2 separate regions of the Homo sapiens genome follow, and region 2 is linked to region 1. Evidence: promoter capture Hi-C in human tissues and cell types (Jung and others, 2019). All regions are on one chromosome and are shown on one strand. The core of a region is centred on a gene start or on the middle of the fragment in contact, and the rest is flanking DNA. Distances in the headings are between cores, read along the strand shown.

The links. Contacts are between HindIII fragments. The study calls those that stand out against the background at their distance.
Region 2: a fragment that was not itself captured here is called in contact with the fragment with the promoter of ERI1 in region 1 in 2 of the 25 tissues and cell types used here (lymphoblastoid cells and mesenchymal stem cells).

The regions. Positions count from the first base shown.
Region 1 is chr8:9,001,124-9,004,279 of GRCh38, reverse strand. It overlaps ERI1 (exoribonuclease 1), which reads right to left and starts at 1,383. Exons shown (of 7, transcript NM_153332.4): 1 at 1,109-1,383. The coding sequence starts at 1,216. It overlaps LOC105379227 (a long non-coding RNA gene), which reads left to right and starts at 1,538. Exons shown (of 3, transcript XR_002956680.2): 1 at 1,538-1,619. The HindIII fragment of the contact is 7,447 bases long and covers 1-3,156 here.
Region 2 is chr8:8,631,217-8,634,199 of GRCh38, reverse strand. No RefSeq gene overlaps it. Among named protein-coding and RNA genes, the nearest start is that of CLDN23, 69 kb to the left of the region's middle. RefSeq lists an enhancer at 2,234-2,373. The HindIII fragment of the contact is 7,577 bases long and covers 1-2,983 here.

The sequences.
Region 1 (3,156 bases), core at 134-2,633:
GTATCTCAGGCTGAAGAGGGAGGCAGGTGGAAGAGTGGTTCTTTACAAGAGAAGGGATGTGCAAGTACTCTTTGAAATAACAACCTTAGAAGGAGAAAGATAATTGCAAGGATCCAAAGGAAGTGCACACAGGGCAAAAGGAACATACAGAGATCCTTAACGAGACCTTCTTTCCAATGTCAAAGAACACAAGGCAGCGAGGGGCACTGGGAACAAAAGGGAAAAAACTGTGTGAGATGCAATTACCAAGGGAGGCAGGCACCCGACCCCGCAGAGCAGCAAATGGAAGTGACTCAGGAGGGGAATAAGCCAAATTCATGTTATTGAAAAGCTCATTCTAGCTGCCAGATGGAAACTGACTGTGGACGGAAGGAGCAAGAGTTAGGAGGCCTCTTGCAAATACGCACTTTATGAAGCTTTACGAAGTGTTCAACATGTTTATTATTAGGAAAAGATCAATTTTAGTATTCAATCACTTACAATCCGCAGCGCTAGTCAACAATTAACATTCGTTAAATAAGTTTTAAGACTGTTCTACAACTTTGCCACTGTAACTAAGTTCAACCGATGAGATGTCAAAATGATTCATTCAATCTTATACTATGGTTATATGAGACACCAGTTAATGAGCAAAAGCAGCTAAGACGAAGCTCCACTTAACAGGTACAGAGACAGGGATGCTGGTGAGTGCTTTTTAAATTTTTTCTTTTTTTAAAAACAGGCATGAAGTGACATACCTAGCGTATATGGTGAGATTTTAAAAACATAAAGCCTTGCAAACTACCCATAACGGCTACATGGAGTGACAACAGCAACCGTGAACACAGAATTAAGTTTAAAGCAAAACTCCCTCTTAGAACCTGTTAACCCACTGTAGACAGAACTGGTCTTGACGATTTCCTCCCTCCCAGAGAGTGATTCGGCCCTGAGGGGGCTCCAAGACACCCACCCGAGGATAAAGCCAGGGAGCTGGGCACCGAGGAAGAGGCTGGGGTCCAAGGGCGCACAGCTGCACCTTCTGCGGGACACCTGAGAAGAAAGGGGTGCCGAGGGCGCTTTGGGGACGGGGCAGCTGGCGCCAACAGCCAGGCGCGGGTCGACTCCTCACCTCGGGACTGGGACGCGGCGGCTCCTCCCCGCCCTCCGGCCGCGGCGACTCCAGCAGCGCGAGAGCCACGGCCTCGCCGGCAGGCTCTTTACTCTGTGGATCCTCCATGCCGGCTGTCACGCCAGAGGAGAGTTGCTGGAGCCGGACACTTGCTAACTCTCACTCTGCAGAGCCCGAAAGCCTCGCCTTTCTCCGTTGAAAAATTACCGGGCTCGCGTTCCCGCGGCGGCGGCCACACAAACTCCAGCGGCCACCTCCCACTTCCGGGAGCGTGTGGCGTCCACACGCCGGGCAGGCGCAGTGAGCCGGCGTGCGCGGAACGCCAGCGCCGCAGTCCACAGGGGGAGGGAGGACGAACAAGAGGGAGGCGCGCCGGTGAGAAGACGGGGCGTGGCCGGCCGTAGGCGGAGCTAGCGCGGGTTGAAGTTGCGCAAGGATCTAGTCCAGTCACTGGAGGGTAGCACCGGCACGTGTGTTCCCGTCAGTGTTTCCTGAGAAGGAAAAAAGTAGGGTGAGTGGGAAGATATCATAGAGAAAGATGTTTTCGACCATAAAAAATAATAAAACAATTCACATTTTCCATAAGGAGTTTCCTAAAACTTCCACTCTGGGCAAGAAAAGAAAATGGGTCGGGACTTAGTGTCCCACTATAAACAATTAGAAAACGGAACAAAATATAGGAGACACCTATTCAGACATTGGACAACGGACAGCTGTGGACTGTTTTACCTGAGAGAAAAGAAATAAAAGGAGCCGTATATCATCCTGCCCTTTTGCCCAGAGGCGATTTCCAGTCTGTGGTGCGATGAAAGGAAATCATATGGAAACCTAGGATCTCCTGGGTTGAAAAGACAGAGATTGGAGTTGACGAAATTGGGGTAGGCCAAGTCGGTTGGAATTTGTAGGGCAGAATTCTGGAGAGGAGGGAATTACATGGAAAAAGAGCTTCAGAAATCTGCTTAGGAGTACCTTGAATCTTTAACTGAATAAAAAACGTGAAACTCCACAAGGCCAGGAAAGAACAATTACTGGGGAGCAGTACACCAAACAATGGTGAGAGGTCACACAGAACTGGGAATCATTTGAGCTCCCAGCAACCAGAGTGAAGAGATTATTGAATACCATGGAACACGCAATAGAAACCTCAGATGTGAAACTGCCATTGCAAAATTATCATTGAGACAGTGAAAGAGATCAGACCTAACCAACTCCATCTTGCTTTTAACCTCCAGGCTATCCTTATTCATTCCTAGGCGTAGGCCAAACTAACACTGGGAGGAACTTAGTGTATAGCTTATAGTTTAAAACAAAGGTGATAGCCCTTTCTCAAAATAAACCCTCTTCTTGAGACTAGACTGCTTTTGTAGGACTAGTAAATTAGCCGAAAGATTAGAAATTATGATTTAGGACTCATGCAGCTGAAGGCTACAAGATTCTAACCCTCTCCAAATTGCTCCTGGGGATAATATCACTATTGTAAAATCTAAGATCAGTGCTTGAGATATTTTGCAGGCCCTGCACTTGATGGATCAGCTGGCACCTCCCAGATTGATAAACTGACTCACCTGATCTTGGATAAACTAGCTCATCTGATTTTGTGTCCCCCACGGGAGGAACTGACTCAGTGCAAGAGGACAGCATCGACTCCCTATGATTTCATCTCCTACCCAACCAGTCACCACTCCCATCTCACTGGCTTCTCACCCACCCAATTATCCTTAAAAACTCTGATCCCCAAATGCTCAGGGAGACTGATTTGATTAATAAAACTCAGGTCTCCTGCACTGCCAGCTCTGCATGAATTGCTCTTTATTGCAATTCCCCTGTCTTGATAAATCGACTCTGTCTAGGCAGTAGGCAAGATGAACCTTTTGGGTGGTTACGAAAGTGTCATGCCTTAGTGAGATATAATAACCGTAGACTGCAGGACCCAGAACATAAACTACTGTAGATTCTTCAAAAGCCTTAAAACAAGCCCTGAAAGGATCAAACTGCTCTGTAAGTAACCTAATTACCTGTAAGAACAAATTCTAAAACTCTCTGAAAGA
Region 2 (2,983 bases), core at 238-2,737, 370 kb after region 1:
GTGTATCTTCACATACCCATTTCATATATATGTGTATAGATGATATTATATATGATATATGATATATATTCATATATACATATATGTATACTTGAAATATATATTTCATATATGTATACCCATTTCATATATATGTGTATATATGATATATATGATACATGATATATATTCATATATACATATATGTATACATGAAATATATATTTCATATATGTATATATATATGAAATGGGTATGTGAAAATACACAAACACATATTTTCACATGCCCATTTTAAATATTTGTTTGTGTGTGTATGTATATATATATATATATAAAATCAGAAAACGGAAAATGTCTAGAGTATCTGCGTTACGAGACTTCAGGCACCTGGGGAAAATTATTTTCTGACCAGCAGTCTCCGGAAGAGGAGCCAGGCCTTGTGTGTGGCCTTGGCCTGGGTCCCGGTCTTGCACTTTCTCCCTCTAGCCTGGTGGGCCAGGGCCAGGGGCCTTTGCTTTAATCCTACAGTTTCTGCTCAATCATTAGCCCTTCCTATGACCCTCACCTGGATGTGATCGTCCCTCTTTTACGCTCTAGTAACAGTATTGTTTTGGGTGGGTCAACATCCAAAACACTAGTGTCCTCATTTAATTAAGGTCAGGTCTCCTTATACTGGGTTAGCACTAAAGTAATTGCAGTTTTTGCAATTACTTTTAATGGCAAAGGCCACAATTACTTTTGCACCAATCTAATAACTTCCTTCATGGCAAAAACTTTTTGCTACCTTTATACTAAGTGTCTTGTACCTAGCAGCTGCTTTCAAAATGTATTAAATGAATGAATGAAATAAAAATAAAATTAAATTCAATGGTATATCATTTATCTTGGCATCTGATGTAAATTAGGTATCAATAAAGGGTAGCTATGATTATGAGGATACATAATTTCAGAACTAAGTTGTGAGGCGTCTTATTTCCATATCTCAACTAGTATTTGAAATGCAGCTTTAGGTGAAAAAGTTTAGGCTTCTAGACCATGTTTTTAAAAAGTTAATCAAACAATGGAAGCCTCAATATATAGTAGAATTTCTCTTGTATGTTGAACTCCCTAGAATATGCTCATAAACATATTTCTTTTTCAAGATAATTTTATTTTTCATGTTATGAAAATGTTAATGTAATTATACTAATCTTAAAATAAACAAAATCATGCTTAGTTTTGTCGTCCAGAGATAACCATATGAATGTGTAAATTTTGTTTTCTAGGCAGGATTCTTTTTTTTCAACATAGCTGTGATTCATTCAAATGAGTGAATTTAACAAATATTTGCATTACGTTTTTTATGTGTCAGGGCTGTGCTTATAGTGTGTACACTGTGTTTACATAGAGAATATAATTTTGTATTCAATTTTTTAGCAAATATAATAATAGACATTTGCCAATGTTATTCAAAACTCTTTGTAAATATAATCATGCTTTTTAAAAACTAAGCATCCTATGGTTGATCATTTTGGTCCTTTTCAATATTATAATACTGCAACATTGTTTTAGATGATTAGGATGCTTTGTTTAGGAAAGATTCCCAGATATAGATTTACTGGGAGGAAAGCTATGAGCATTTTAAGACTTTTGATTTACCAACTTGCTTTCCAAAATGGGGTACAAATTAACTGAATGGAAAGATAGAAATACAGAAAACAAAGAAAGGTAAATAATTGTGATATAGTATTTTGCAAATGTTGAAATAAATTCTTTAGCTAGAAAAAAAAGAAATATAGGAAACATGGAGAAATAGAAAATGTTTCTATATACAGAATACAGAAAAATACAGTTTTAAAAAAGTATACCTTAATATTAAGGCTTCCGCGGCAAACCAGAGTGAAGTGATGTTCAACCCCACTTTGTCAAATGCTTGAAATTCATTTGCAGTTGCCAGGTTATCTGGAGGTTTTGACGGTGCCCAGAGAGAGAAGGAAGTGTCTGTTTGAGGTGCCTTGCTCCTAATCCAGTGTCTCCTAAAAGCACAGAACCTTGGTAATTCAAGCAAGATGTCTTTCTGGTATGCCTAGAGGCACCTAAAACCATGACACAGTTAGGACAAATATAGTAGATTGTACACACACAGGAGTTTCATGTAACAAGTGAAACCAAGGTTTCTTTCAAAGCTTAGGGTTTCTTTCATGTGAAAGATACATTCTTATTTTTAGATAGGAAGAACTCCAGGCTGAAGCAAGCAGTGTGATATAATCTTGTATTGTCTTGAAGGAAATTAGCCAGGGAATTGATACATGTTTAGCCATGTCATTCCAGGAATCCTTTAAGCTGACTATAGGGAGCTAATACTTTCTGAAAGTAATTTTACCCAAAAGAAACACAGACTTTTGGCTGGGCGCGGTGGCTCACGCCTGTAATCCCAGCACTTTGGGAGGCTGAGGCGGGCAGATCATGAGGTCAGGAGATCGAGACTATCCTGGATAACACGGTGAAACCCCGTCTCTACTAAAAATAGAAAAAATTGACAACTGAGTATAAAGCTTAGAAATTTGGCAGTGAATAAAGAGGTAGAATATTTACCAGTCCAACTCTTGGAACCCTTCCCAAAGCATACTCCTAAAGGCTGAGTGTTTAGCTAACTCTTACAAATGCAAAGATTTATCAGGCCTTCACTGGCTGATTGCAGGTGTTATGCACATGAGGTCATGATTTCAATTCCCACATAACACGGTTAACTGTACTTTATTTCATAACCAGCCTACCTTGTCCTACACTGAATTGGTGTTTGTAAGGAGACAGCATGAGGTAGGCCCTGGGAAGGAAGAAACACGGGGTTAGAAGCTCCTTTGATTGATCCCCTAGTATATGCCATTAATTTTATAAGAAAGACCAGGTAAAAGAGGAATGATCAATCATTCACTGTAAATTCATCACCAATGTGGAAGAAGAGTTTATGTGTATGAAGGACAGTTCATTTCAAATTATAGGATATACGAATAAAATAATA